Regions from separate parts of the Homo sapiens genome. Here region 1 is linked to region 2. Evidence: promoter capture Hi-C in human tissues and cell types (Jung and others, 2019). All regions are on one chromosome and are shown on one strand. The core of a region is centred on a gene start or on the middle of the fragment in contact, and the rest is flanking DNA. Distances in the headings are between cores, read along the strand shown.

Region 1 (7,578 bases), core at 3,035-5,534, 1.3 Mb before region 2:
AGTCACCCGCCGGCTGTGCTCAGATGTGGTGGGTGAGGCGCCTTAAACCTGGTCTGTCTTGAGGGATTCCCCCAGTAGCTGAGGAGGCTTGACATGCCCACTGCTTGCGGGGTGTCTGAATGCTGCCTTGGAGAAGGACAGACAGTCATGACACGTGGGGCCTGAACAGGGGCACTTGCTGCACGGAGTAGCTCTAGCCTTGCTGACGGAGAGGTACCCAGGAGAGCAGGTGCCGGAACCTTCCATCTTTAGCACCAAAGGCAGAAAGGAGCCGGCGTTATGGTCAGCTCATCACGCCCTTCACGGTTCCTACGTTCCTTTTGTGTGCTGAGAGGCTGCTGCCGTGAGTGTGCAGTCTGTGGAAATGTGGAAGGGGCAGGAAAGAGAGGGGACTCTAGAAGTTCCTTCCATTGCTCCTGTGAAAACACGTGCAACATGGAAGTCAGCACCGTCCTGTAAAAATAGAATGTGTGCCACACAGGTCATTTTGAAATTTTCTTGGAGTCACATTTAAAAATATATTAAAGGGTGCCTTGAAAAATCTATAACTGTTTTGTCTCTGTCAAGGCATTGGTCCCAAAAGAAAACATATTTGAGGTGCTCTAGCCAGCATCTCATTTTTGTTTTCTGTTTTTTGTTTTTTTTTTTGAGGCGGAATCTCGCTCTGTCTCCCAGGCTGGAGTGCAGTGGCGCGGCCTTGGCTCACTGCAGCCTCCGCCTCCCTGGTTCAAGCAATTCTCCTGCCTCAGCCTGCTGAGTACCTGGGACTACAGGGGCCCGCCACCATGCTCGGCTATTTTTTTTTTATTTTTAGTAGAGACGGGGTTTCACCGTGCTGACCAGGATGGTCTCAATATCCTGACCTCATGACCCACCTGCCTCGACCTCCCAAGGTGCTGGGATTACAGGCATGAGCCACTGTGCCTGGCCCATTTTGGGTCTTTTATATTAAGATTTATATTGGGGCTGGGTGTAGTGGCTCATGCCTGTAATCCCAGTACTGTGGGGAGCCAAGGTGGGAGGACTGCTTGAGCCCAGGAGTTTGAGACTAGCTTGGTCAACATGGTGAAACCCGGTCTGTACCAAAAAATACAAAAATTTGCCAGGTGTGGTGGTGCATGCCTATAATCCCAGCTACTCGGGAGGCTGAAGTGGGAGGATTGCTTGAGGTCGAGGCTGCAGTGAGCCATGATCACATCAGTGTACTCCAGCCTGGGCAACAAAGCAAGAAGGAAAGAAAGAAAGAAAGGGGAAGGGAGGGAAGGGAAGGGAAGGCCAGAGTAACTCATTTTAACAGAGAGAGAAAAATGAAATGAAGCAAAGTCTCAAAGAAGTGGTTTGGCAGGATTCTCTGTTACAACTAACTTTCGGTTTTGTATTTATTTTCACCAAATAGTTATTTTCAATTCCAACCCCATTTCGGCTTAGTTGGCATTAAGACATACACGGTGACCCCGCAACTTTTGTGAAGATAGTTTTCCAGCGAATCAGACCTTTTCGAAGAAGAAAAAACTCTTCATAGACTTGGCCATTAAAACCCTGTGTCTGTTTCTGAGTTCCAGAGGGAACTGGATATCCCACTGTGCTTCAGCAGCTGTGAGGTCAGTGTCCATGACAGCCCCAGAACAAGTCCCTGAAATTTTAAGAAAGGTGAATCTGCACATTTATATTCTCAGTGTCTGCTGCCATTGAAATTCCAGATCATAATTCAGGAGAATGAAGTCACTTTAAAGTGCGAGGATGGGAGGGAGAGAAAGGCTGAGGGAATGCTCTCTAAACTCCAGATGATCATTCTGCGGTCAGGGAATGAGTTGGCCTGAGGTTCACATCACCCTATTGTGTGAGCACGTGCATGCTGCTGTTTGAACCCAGGCACAAAATACTTGAAGGTGATTGCGATGCCCTGACCAGGCTCTTCTCTTCCAGTACTCTGCCATGTTCCCTGTTTGTTTTAACCTGCAGGAAGAAGGAGGAGTTGCGGATGATAGTGCCATTTCTAATCTGCTTTGGGTAAGCCTGACTCTAACACAGGTGTCCTCTCGATGGTGGCCAGAATTACACTTCGCGTGGGTAATCCTGATCCTGGGTGGTTCCTTCGTGCACCCTCCCTGGTGCTTTTCTTATCTCCAGACCAGACACAGCCTTTGTCCGGAGTGGAGAGCTGAGCCCGTGCCCTTAAACTATTTTTTAATCATGTAATGAAGATACTTTAAAGAAGATGATATTTTCTGTTTAATGTTAAAACTGTCAATGAAAGTCATGGTTCCTCTCTCTGTAACTGACAATCTTCTATAAATTAACTCATTTAATTACTGCACAAAGCTGACTCAGGTATATTTACCGCGCTTGTGTGGATTTACTTTAGCATTAGCATTCAAGGGAGGACTCTCTTGAAAAGAGAACTGAAATTGCAATGAGTAAATTAACATTCTGTTAGAAAAATCATTGTTTTGTCTCTCCCTCCCCCACGTCCCTGCCCGGCCCCGCTCTGATAAATCTTCTCTTCATCTTAAATCCTCTTGCTTTGCTCTGTAGGAACCTGTATATGCTTCTACTTACTATCGTGCTATTCCTGCTGCCCATAAATACCTGTCTTTTGTGTCGACTAATCGGGTGAGGAAAAGCCGCTCATCTTAAGCCTCACTGCAATTTCTGAGCCGCAGGGGAGGAGCTTCTGTTTAATTTGGGGCAATAATTTCTTTGCTACATTTCACTGTGAAAGAGGACTGTGTGTGTTTCAGTACGATTGCGTGTGTCCATGAGATTGTGTATCTATAAGAGAATGTCTGTGTGTACCATTGACAGTGTGTGTTTGTGAAAGTGTATCTATGAGTGTATGTGTCTGTATGAGTGTGTGTGTCTATGAAAGTGTGTGTATCTATAAGTGTGTTTCTGAGTGTGTCTGTGAGAGTATATCTGTATGAGTGTGTCTGTGTCTATGAGAGTGTGTCCATGAGACTGTGTGTGTATCTATGAGTGTGTGTGCTGAGTGTGCATCTATGAGAGCGTGTCTGTGTGTGTGTGTCTATGAGAGTGTGTGTGTGTCTTTAAGTGTGTGCCTATGTGTGTTTAATTGGTTCTTCATATATTTAGGGTCAGTCACACACACACTGATCCTTGGCTCAGATTTTCAGGTGGACTTGATGGCATTAATTCACCTCATAGTCATGAAACTGGTTTAAGAGGAGAGTGTCCCCTTTCAGCCTCCAAGCCTGGATCCTGAGTCAGGAGCCCAGGAGATGCGTCCGTGTTCTTTGCTCCGGCTCAGTGAGGATGTTGTCCTGCTCAGTTCATAGAGGAGGAGGATATGGTGGAGGCAGTTTGGGGTGTGGAGGGACAGGGAGGAAGACTCAGAGAGGGGAGGCCCCTCCAGTGACCCTATTAAAGAACCAGGGGGAGCTGGTTCCAATGGCCCTATTAAAGCAAGAGACCATGAACCCCCTCACCCTTCCCTCCATCCTCGCTGTACTCGCTCTGGAAGGGAGACCTTGGACTCCCACCCTGGAAGGGAGACCTTGCCTGGACTGAGCCACTCCGTAGGTGAATAACATGAAAAATATTAACAGTTGTTTTTTTATTTCCCCGTGGAATGTCCTTGGTGTCAAAACAGCTCCGCTTTTCCATCAATGCCAGGTTCCCATCTCCTCTCTGTAGGGCTTTGCCCCATCACTTCCCTCTAGGGCCTCTGTCCCCTCCCTCATAGGGCCTCTGTCCCCTCCCTCTAGGGCCTCTGTCCCCTCCCTCATAGGGCCTCCGTCTCCTCCCTCTATGGCTTCTGTCCCCTCCCTCATAGGGCCTCTGTCCCCTCCCTCTAGGGCCTCTGTCCCCTCCCACTGAGGCCTCTGTCCCCTCCCTCTAGGGCCTCTGTCCACTCCTACTAGGGCCTCTGTCCCCTCCCTCTAGGGCCTCTGTCCCCTCCCACTGAGGCCTCTGTCCCCTCCCTCTAGGGCCTCTGTCCCCTCCCACTGAGGCCTCTGTCCCCTCCCTCTAGGGCCTCTGTCCACTCCTACTAGGGCCTCTGTCCCCTCCCTCGTAGGGTCTCTGTCCCCTCCCTCTTAGGCCCTCTGTCCCCTCCCTCTTAGGCCCTCTGTCCCCTCCCTCGTAGGGCCTCTGTCCCCTCCCACTAAGACCTCTGTCCCCTCCCTCTAGGGCCTCTGTCCCCTCCCACTAGGGCCTCTGTCCCCTCCCACTAGGGCCTCTGTCCCCTCCCTCTAGGGCCTTGCCTCCCCAGCAGGACTGGGGCTTTCTTAGCTGTCAGGTGGCCTCTGACAGTGCCGCGATGGGCCTGCTCCAGCAGCACCAGCAGTTATTGAATGAGTGGCTCAGGGTTTCACATGCGAAGCTGACAGGGAAGGTGTCTGGGGTCCTCCCGTAGTCATCTCGCCTCTTCACAGATGGAAACTCCCCACTTCTTCTCCCTGGGGCGGCCTTTCCCTCACTCTCCTGGTTCCTTCCCCCGAAGCTGGAAATGCTGGTTTTAAGAGCCCAGGCCCCACGTACCCAGCCAGTGTCCACCCCAAGAAAGGGGCTGAAATGTGGAGCAAACTTCCTATTCCATCACGAACGGGGGAAATGAGCTTGTGTTTCTTTGAAATAAGCCAATATTAAACTTTAAAGGAAAAGATATATTACTGAAGTCTTTAAGTGTATACAGTCGGCCCTTCATCTCTTCCAGTTCCGCATCCAAGGATTCAACCAACTAGGGATACTTGGGAATAAAACCAATAAGAAAGAACAATACAACAGTTAAAAAATTAAAAACCAATACAGCAGAACAACTATTTACATAACATTACCTTGTATTAGGTATTATAAGTCATCACGAAATGATTTAAAGTACACAGCGGGGATGTGCACAGGCTGTGTGCAAATCCTACCCCATTTTATTTCAGGGACTTGAGCATCTGTGGATTTTGGTATCTGTAGGAGGTCCTTGAACCAGTCCCCCATAGAAGCTGAGGGACAACTAGATATATTTTTCAGAAGAATTTATTTTTTTGGAGCAGTTGTAGGTTCACAGCAGAAAGTACAGAGTTCCTACATCATCCCTGCCCTCCCACACACAGCCACCCCAATTATCAACATCCCCCTCCAGAGTGGCACATTTGCTACCATTGATGAACTTACATTGACACATCACTATCCCCAAAGTTAATAGATTATGTTAAAATTTACTCTTGGTGTGGTCCATTCTCTCGGTTTTGACAAATACATAATGACATATGTCCACCATTACACTATCATACAGAATCGTTTCCCTGCCCTGAAGATCCTCTGTGTGCTGTCTCTTCGTCACTCTCACTGCCCAGTCCTTGGCAACCTGTAAGTTTTTACTGTCTCATAGTTTTGCCTTTTCCAGAATGTCATCTAGTTGTAATCATACGCTATGTAGCCTTTTCAGATTTGCTTCTTTCATTTAGCAATATACATTTAAGATTCTTCTGGCTGGGCGTGGTGGCTCATGCCTGTAATCCCACTTTGAGAGGCTAAGGCAGGCGGATCACGAGGTCAGGAGTTCTAGAAAAGCCTGGCCAAGATGGTGAAACCCCGTCTCTACTAAAAATACAAAAATTAGCCAGGCATTGTGGCGGATGCCTGTAATCCCAGCTACTCGGGAGGCTGAGGCAGGAGAATCGCTTGAACCAGGGAGGCAGATGTTGCAGTGAGCAGAGATCGTGCCACTGCACTCCAGCCTGGGTGACAGAGCAAGACTCCATCTGAAAGAAAAAGAAGAAAGAAAGAAAGCAAGAAAGAAAGCATGAAAGAAAGCAAGAAAGAAAAGAAAGAAAGAAAGAAAGAAAGAGAGAGAGAGAGAGAAGGAAGGAAGGAAGGAAAGAAAGAAAGAAGGAAGGAAGGAAAGAAAAAGATTCTTCTATGTCTTTTTATGGTTTGAAAGCTTTTTTCTTTTTAGTGCCAAATAATATTCCATTACCTGGGCATGCCACAGTTTACTTATCTATTCATCTACTGGAGGACAGTTTGGTTGCTTCCACATCTTGGCAGTTATAAAAAAGTGCTATAAACATCCATGTGCAGGCTTTTGTTTGGACATAAGTTTTCAACTCATTTGAGTATCAAGGAGCATGATTGCTTTATCACATGGTAAGAGTATGTTTAGTTCTATGAGAAACCTCCAAACTGTCTTCCAAAGTGGCTGCACCATTTTGCATCTCCACCAGCAATGAATGAGACTTCCTGTTGCTTCATATCCTTGCCAGCATTTGATGTTGTCAGTGCTTGGGTTTTTGCCATCCTAATTGATGTGTAATAGTGTCACTTTGTTTTAATTTGCAAATCCCATCATTAGGGATTTGCAAATTAGATATTCAGCATATTTCCATATGCTTATTTTCTATCTGTATATCTTCTTTGGTGAGGTATCTATTTAGATTTTTTTCCCATTTGTTAATCTGGTTGTTTGTTTTCCTATGGTTGAGTTTTAAGAGTTATTTGCATATTTTGGGTAACAGTCCTTTATCAGACATGTCTTTTGCAAATATTTTCTCCCATTCGTAGTTTGTCTTCTCATTCTTTTAACAGTGTCTTTTACAGAAGTTTTTAATTTCAGTGAAGTCCAGCTTGTTAGTTATTTCTTTCAAGGATATTGCCTTTGCTGTTACATCTAAAAACTAATCATCAAACCCAAAATAATCTAAATATTCTCCTACGTTATCTTCTAGGAGTGTTATAGTTTTGAATTTTACAGTTAGGTCTTTGTGATCCATTTTGAGTTAATTTTTGTGAATGGTGGAAGATTTGTACCTGGATCTTTTTTTTTTTTTTCACATGTGAGTGTCTAGTTATTCCAGCACCCATTTGTTGAAAGCAGTATCTTTTCTTCATTCTATTGCTTTTGCTCCTTGTCAAAGATCAGTTGACTATATTTATATGAATCTACTATTGAGCTCTCTATTTCATTGATCTATTTGTTTATTCTTTTACTAGTACCACACAATCTTGATTACTGAGGCTTTATAGTAAGTCTTGAAGTTGAGTGGTGTTGGTCCTCCAACTTTTTTCTTCCCCTTCAGTGTTGTGTTTGCTATTCTGGGTCTTTTGACTCTCCATGTAAACTTTATGATCAGTTTGTCAATATGTTCAAAATATTTTGCAGGGACTTTGGAACTGCATTGAATTTATAGATCGAGTTGGGAAAAACTGACATCTTGACAAAATTGAGTCTTCTTATCCATGAACATGGAATATCTCTCCATATATTGTTAAGTTTAAGAGAAAATAACATTTGCCAAAGACATTTATGTTTCATCACTTCAAAATTAAAATTTCAAAAAATTCTATATTTTTACTTCTGACCAGTTTTTCCCAGCTGAATGTAAATATTTTATATACTAAGTATGTAGCACTAGCTCATCTGTGTTCTCAGAGGTCAAGTCACTCCTTTTCTTTCCTCCAGCAGTACTGGTGTCTTCATACTTAATAATACAGAGGTTCAGAGAAGAAAAGAGAGCATTTAAACAGCACACAGGCTCTGTCTAAATGGACTGTTTGTCTCTGTGTCAGGCTTCAGCCTGAATTCCTTTCTCTCATGCTTCAGGGCTGTACCAGAAGAAGATTTCA
Region 2 (7,248 bases), core at 1,439-3,938:
GCACTAGATTATCAACAGGGGAAGGAGGCTTAGAGACTACACCATTTGGCAGTTCAGTTCAATTAAAGAGCTAATCAATTACAAAACGAAACTGCAGAATATTCATTAAGTCCATGAAGTCAATGAAAGTAATAGGGAAATGGCTGAATCACAGCAAAGCCATATACCAATGAGCCGGGGCCAGCTAACTGAAGAAAAAAAAAAAAAACCACAAGGATAGTGGCCCAATAGGTTCCTCAAAAGAGGTAATCTGAAAAGCCCGATTTGAAGTACAGTGATGCTATGTCGTACTACGACACCTTTCACATCTGATTCATACTACAAAATAGTGCATATTTGCAATTCTAGCCAAAATTGTTAAATACAGGACAAAAGTTTAATTTCACTTTTCTCTCCCATGATTTATTGTAAAACTGTGATGCCCATTTTCTCAGGTAAGTAAAATATTAGTACTACTGTTTAATGGTTAAACAGATCACCACTATTTAGTTTTTACTCCATTTAAAAATTTTAATCACCCGTATTATTTTCAGTAATATCACTTACGTAGAGTACTTAAAAATTTGTAAAGTTCACTTTCTATCAGCCTACTAAAAAACCACTGAGCAGATTCTTTCTAATTAAAGAAAAGTCAAATGATTAACTACAAGTAACATGCTGTTTTTCTACAGCACTTAATCTATTTTCATTTGCACCTCGAAACAACTGGTATTAGCAAATATAAAACCGAAAGAGATGCAATGTATTGATAATTATATATGAACAACTAATATATATATAACTAACTATACAGACGGCATTATCTTAACAATCAATGAGTCATCAGTCTTCTCCAGCTTGATGAAGTACGAACAGAAATCTATCAACAAATATTGGCGCATAAATATACATACACACATTATATTACACTTCTGGGGTTTCTTTTTCCCCCACAGAGAAACACTTTTAGAACAGTGGAGCCGCATGCAACCAGGGGTCGCACATATGTGCGCAGACGGTCTGGCTCGTCAGGTGGCATGGGTGGGGGTCACGCTTTCACTGCCTGCTTTGGGCTCTCAAAACCCAGCTCTGAAACGTTTCCAAGGCAAAATAAAAATAGCCAAAATGCCTATTCAGACCAGAGGAGGTAGAGGAAGATGACCGATTCTGTAAAACACCCTCCTACAGATAAAGAAAAGGCGATATGGGCAAGTACACACACATCTAGGCCATCGTTCCCGACTTTTAAGTATGAAAGAGGCGTGGCTAGGGGCTAGATACTTATTTTTAACACTTCCATTGAAACACCCGGAGTCTCCCAAGGTCTAACCTCTAGAAGTCGGGTGGCAGAACCTGAATCAGAACCCGAGTGAGCCTTCCTTCCTCCACCACCTCCCTTTAGGAACGCATGCCTAAATAGTCGATAAAATCTACTTCTCAATGTCATGATTAACCCAAAAGCCAGCCACAACCAATCGTGTTATTAGAGTGCTAAAAGCCTCTATCCACAACAAACACTCCACTTGGGATGACATTAAAACTTTCGATAAAGGTGTACTTTCAACGTCGTGCTTTAGCCTTTGAAAATACATTTACAAAACTGCAGCTGCAGTCAAAAGGAAAACATCACACGCCTCGAAAGCTGAAGGGCGTGCCTTTTTCTCTAACGAAGACCGTGTGGCCATTTCTTCTCAAAGGGTCTGCAGTCACTTAAGATAGCAACGCGTAAAGGACAGCCGTTCTGAGAAGACAACCAGCTCCCCTGAGATGGGAGGCGGGCTGCACGCTGGTAAAGAGGATTTTTCAATTCAAGGACTTTGAGGAGATTCCGCCCAGATAAGCTGGAGGGGAGCGAATGCACGTCCATCCAGCAGGGGCAGGGCACCGGGAAAGACCGCAAAGAAGAAAGTGTCCGGTTTAAGGTCAACAGTCCTCGAGGGACGCCCCAGGTGGATTCCCCGGGTGGGCTCCCCGGGTGGGTGGAGGCCTGCAAGCCCCACCGCGATTAGGGAGTGGGCCCAGGGCGCGGGAGGGGCCGGGCCGGCCTTTTGCGCACACACACACACACACACACACACCCGCCTTTTGCAGACACACGCGCGCGCACACACCCGCCTTTTGCACATAGACACGCACACACCCGCCTTGTGCACACACGCGCGCACTCTCCCGCACTCACACACACACCCGCGCACCCTCACACTCTCCTCCCTGGGGGCGGGGCGGGCGGGCGCTGCCCTCACACAGGAAGTCAGGAAACCCAGGGGGCAGAGAAGCCACAACTTCGGGCCATTTAAACCCTCTCGCCCACGTCAGCCAATAGGCTGCGCCGGCCCCCTCCCCCTCGGCGCCTAACCCCCGCGCCCAGAGCCCCTCGCTGCGCGCCCGACCTCCCTTTGCGCGCACCTCCGCGGCGCCGCCGCCGCCGCCGCCGCGCCTCCCGCACACGCCTCCCCCCGACTCCACCGCCCTCGGCGGGCACAGCCCGGCCCCGGCGCGCCTTTGTGCAGCGCCTCGCCAACCTGCCCTCCGTCCGCCAGGACCCGCGCCCTGCACCTCACCGGGAGCCCGGCGGCCTCGCAGCAGGCGGCTCCCTTCTTAGTCCGCCCCGCGGCTGCGGGTCGACGACGCGAGCCCGAAGAGCGTTCACACGGCTACGGCCGCGGCCGGCCCGTCCCCGCAGGCTGGCCTCTGAGGGAGGGTAAGTTACAGGGCACGTCGGAGCGCGCCGGCGCGGGGGCGGGGCTCACGTGACGCGCGGGGGCGGGGCGGGAGGCTCACGTGATGGCCCGGGCGAGCTGGGCGGGCGCGGGTCTCCGGGACGGTCTGGGGTGGCTAGGGGGTGCGGCGCCCGGCGGGGATCCGAATAGGGGGCAGCCAGCGTACGGTGTGGGAACTCGGGCCGGCGCGGGAGCCTGCGGTCAAGGGGGCTCAGCACTTTGTAAACAAGGAGTGGGAAGCGTTAAAAAAACGCTCGTAGGGAAAACCAGGGAAGGGCGGACATAGCGCCAGGGTGGCAGGAATGGAGCCCGGGCAAAGACGGCCCTGCCGTGGGCCCTAGCGCTCCCTTCGTCGGCCCCTGGAGCTGCGGCCGGGCGTGGGTCAGTCGTTCACGGGCCCGGAAATTCCACTGGGACACCCGAAAAAGTGCTGCACGCCGCCTGAGGGAGACGGAAAGGGACCCGGGGCACTGAGTCCATTGCTGGGGTCGCCAGGGTACGTGGCAGGACCCGCTGTGCACACTCGGGACTGAGGAGACCCCTGGGACGCGGAGAGCCGCTCCAGGGCAGAACCAGTCCGTCAGCATTTAGCCTTCCACGGGCCTGAGGGTGCGAGCCCTGCGGGGGCCACAGGGTCATTGTCCAAAGTCATCCCCGTTTGCACTGTGGCAGCACCGAACCCGGAAGTAACAGCTTTGGCAGGTCTTTGATGGTGATCCAGTGGCAGGAGGAGCTCAGCTGGAATGGGAATCAGGAAAGAGACCTGGCTTCTGCCATTTATTGGCACTTCACCCTTCTGAACCTCAGCTTTCAAATGAGAGCTGGCTTCTAGGTCTAGAATACAGTGAGTGTGAGAAAAATAACTGAGAGGCGTTGGGACTTCAGTAACTACTCATTCCTTAACCAGTTGTTGATTGTGCCTGTTGTGCCAGGATGAAATATTTGTTAATAATAGAGACCAGAAAGGAGAGGGGGGAAAAAACAAGCATATGTATGATTCAAGCAATGAAGAGCTACTCTCCGGAGTTGGCTCTTTCCTGTGCTTCACTTCGTACTTGAAGATGCCACAATGCCTGGCTTCCTTATCAACCAGCTGAACTCCGAATTGTGCCTTACAGGATGCGAAGAATCCGGTAGGGCAGTGGCAAGACTTTAACAGCTGTGGTTTACAACCTTCTTATTAAATTAAGTCTAATGCGAGCTAAAGTGTTAAGATAGTCTCCATTTAGAAAGGAAAGAGGCTTACAATGAGAATTTTTGAAAAATAAGCCTGAGACTGTGCTGTCTCTATCGTTGCATTTGCTTTTCACAGTCCTTGGCACCCACTGCCTTTTTGTCTCCCTCGGTTTCTAACCCGTTCTGTTTTCTTGCATTTGTTCAGTATAAGGAGTATTTCCTGTATGCTTTGGCAACTATTTTCCATAGACTCTGCTTGTGTTCTCCTTATAAAACCAGAACAAGAGCAGTGCAAAAAAGAAAACGACCCTGATAGGAATGCGCTGATAACCTTACTTTCCCTACTCTCCAAACCTGAATTGGGCACCCTTGGTTTTAGCAAGAGATAGAACTCAACAGTTTGCATACACTTGCGGATCTGCCTGTAACCCCACTTCCTATTTCACAGCCTAATCTCGGATGATACCACAATGCCCACAGTATGCTGATCACCACCAACAGCAGATGGAGGCGGATAAAAAGAGCTTTCTCGCTAGTGTGTTGTTTTAAAAGAACCTGATGGAGAGCTATGATCATATGTAACACTGCCTCTAGTTAGTTTTTAAATAACACTTGTAGCATATGTCTGGCGCCTGTGCTCAGGATTTCAACAGATCATTTTCAGGATTTTGACATTTAACTGGCTTCTTATGAAGTAGCAGAGAGTTCCAAAATGTAGAACTGAAATATAAGCTCCACACACAGGCAGAGATTTGAGTCTGATTTGTTTGTGTGTATATCCCAAGTGCCTAAAAGCACTTGGCATACGGTAGATGCACAATAGATTCCTGTTAAATGTATTTTTAGGTGAAAATGTAGTCTGTACTTTGCATAAACTTGTCCTACTTTCTTCCTAGTTCTTTAATAAGTAACCTACTTTTCATTATATATTTTTAAATGAAAAAACAAAATTATATCTGGCATCACTACTTTGGCTGGGCTATAAAGAAACAGGAATTTGGCAGTATGTATTAAAATTACAAATGCATATATACTCGGAGCCTTGAATTTCATTTCCAGGGATTTATGCCACAGATGTTTCCACACATAAGAAATAACAAGGTGTTTCTTATTGTTGAGAATAGCAAAAGATTGGAAACAAGCTAAGTATCTATCAACAGGATACTAGTTAAATTATGATAGAGCCATATGTTTGAACATTGTGCAGCTGTTAATCAAAAAAACAGAAAGTTCTTTGTTTTAACATTAAGATCTCCAAGATTTTTTTGTTAAGTGAAAAACACAGAAATACGGTACAGAATATTGTATTAAATTGTATATGCATTAAACTAGGACAAAGTAACATGAGGTATGAGAACACAGTAGATGGAAAGCATAAGAAATAGACTTCATTGTATTCATATTTAAACTTTTTGATATTCAAAATTTCAGAATGTTTTATCTATTCAAATAGTGAAAATGTTTAAAATTTTTCTGGCATCTTTTTGTTGTTGTTGTTGTTATTAAAACATTCAGGCTTCTTCTGTTTTATAAAAGTTTACCTGAGTAAAATAAACATATCAAGGAGGCTGGGTGCAGTGGCTCATGCCTATAATCCCAGCACTTTGGGAGGCTGAGGCGGGCAGATTGCTTGAGCTCAGGAATTCAAGACCAACCTGGGCAACATGGCAAGACCCCATCTCTAATGAAAATACAAAAAAAAAAAAATAGCCAGGCATGGTGGTGTGTGCCTGTGGTCTCAGCTACTCCAGAGGCTGAAGTAGGAGGATCACTTCAACCCAGGAGGTGGAGGTTGCAGTTAGTCAAGATTGTGACACTGCACTCCAGCCTGAGTAACAGAGTGAGACCATGTCTCAAATAAATAAATAAATAAATAAATAAATAAAATCAGGTAAGCTAGTGCTCATAGGCAAACTTTTGAAAACCTCAGAGTTTTTGTTCAGATTGAATGATGTCTGTTTCTTACCGTAATAATTTAAAATCCAGGTACATTTATTTTGAGGCTTAGTATACATTTTATCAAATGTATATAAATTTTCAGAAGTACTCTATTTTTCTTCAAGTTTAGTAGAGCCTTCCTTGAACAAGTTTTAACAAATTGGATCCTCCATTTTAAACAATAAAATTAGAATTTCATGGATCATTTGTCTGTTAATTAAGGTCAACAAAATATATTTTGGGAAAAACGCTAAAGGCATATGTTTCTCGTGTATCTGTTCACTCACCCATTTTGTAATATCAACTGCTTCTTGTTTCCATGGGTTACACAGATGCCCTGTAAATGATTTTGTCTGATATGTTTCAGTATTTGATTATATTTATTTGTGGGCTTAATTTCCAGAAATCTCAAAGAGAATAATGAGTACAATAGCAGTCAGATTTGCATAACACATCTTTAAGGGTTTTAGGAGATTTATTAATATTTTCTTGTGAAATCTCACTGCTTTCACTATATAAATTCATATGATCAGTTTTAACTATTATTAAAGACAAATATTAGTACTTGTGGTCAGGTGTGGTGACTCACACCTGCAATCCCAGCACTTTGGGAGGCTTAGGCAAGTGGGTCACCTGAGGTCAGGAGTTCAAGACCAGTCTGGCCAACATGGTGAAACCCCATCTGTACTAAAAATACAAAAAATTAGCTGGACATAGTGGTGCACGCCTGTAGTCCCAGCTACTCAGGAGGCTGAGGCAGGAGGATTGCTTGAACCCGAGAGGCAGAGGTTGCAGTGAGCCAAGATGGTGCCATTGCACTCCAGCCTGGGTAACAGAGGGAGACCCTGTTTCAAAAAATAATAATAATAATTAGTACTTGTAATAGTTGATTATACAAATTAGGACATTCTTGTCATACCCAACTAACTCAAAGAGTCCAGGAGTGGGGGGAAAAATCACTCAGGGCACATAGCACCAGCTCCAAAAATTAAATTTTCTGCAAGCCCAGCTGCTAAAACAGCCTGCTGTAACCATAAGAATAGTTTTACCTAGTAGCTGCTGAAATGACCTACTGTGACTCATAGACTAGTGTTACCTACTGCTGTCTTCAGCAATCAGAGTTTGCCAGCTCCCCAAAGCTTCTCCAGTAGCAGTGAGCTTTCTTTTAAAACAAAACATAACATTTCTCCTTCTAATAAACTACCAACCTTCTTTTTGTTCTTTGAGCATACCAAAGACCACCTGTATGTGCATATATATATATATATATATATATATATATATATCCCAAATTCCAATTCTGTGATTCCCAAATAAGATGTTTAGAGATTCATCTCTATATTTTATTTTGATTTCTACATACTTGAAGTCAGAAGTGGGATCCAAAGCAGGCTCACCTTGGAGAATTAGCACCTGGAATGTGGCATGAAGTACC

Evidence for each region. The method cuts DNA at HindIII sites, captures the fragments that hold promoters and counts their contacts. A contact is called where the count stands out against the background at its distance.
Region 1: a contact is called between a fragment that was not itself captured here and the fragment with the promoter of ARHGAP12 in region 2, in 1 of the 25 tissues and cell types used here (dorsolateral prefrontal cortex).

The regions. Positions count from the first base shown.
Region 1 is chr10:30,673,593-30,681,170 of GRCh38, forward strand. No RefSeq gene overlaps it. Among named protein-coding and RNA genes, the nearest start is that of LINC02644, 46 kb to the right of the region's middle. The HindIII fragment of the contact is 6,171 bases long and covers 1,200-7,370 here.
Region 2 is chr10:31,926,143-31,933,390 of GRCh38, forward strand. It overlaps ARHGAP12 (Rho GTPase activating protein 12), which reads right to left and starts at 2,689. Exons shown (of 20, transcript NM_018287.7): 1 at 2,541-2,689. LOC107984219 (a long non-coding RNA gene) reads left to right here. Exons shown (of 3, transcript XR_001747415.2): 1 at 1-1,901; 2 at 2,520-2,680. RefSeq lists a silencer at 2,361-2,860. The HindIII fragment of the contact is 14,818 bases long and covers 1-7,248 here.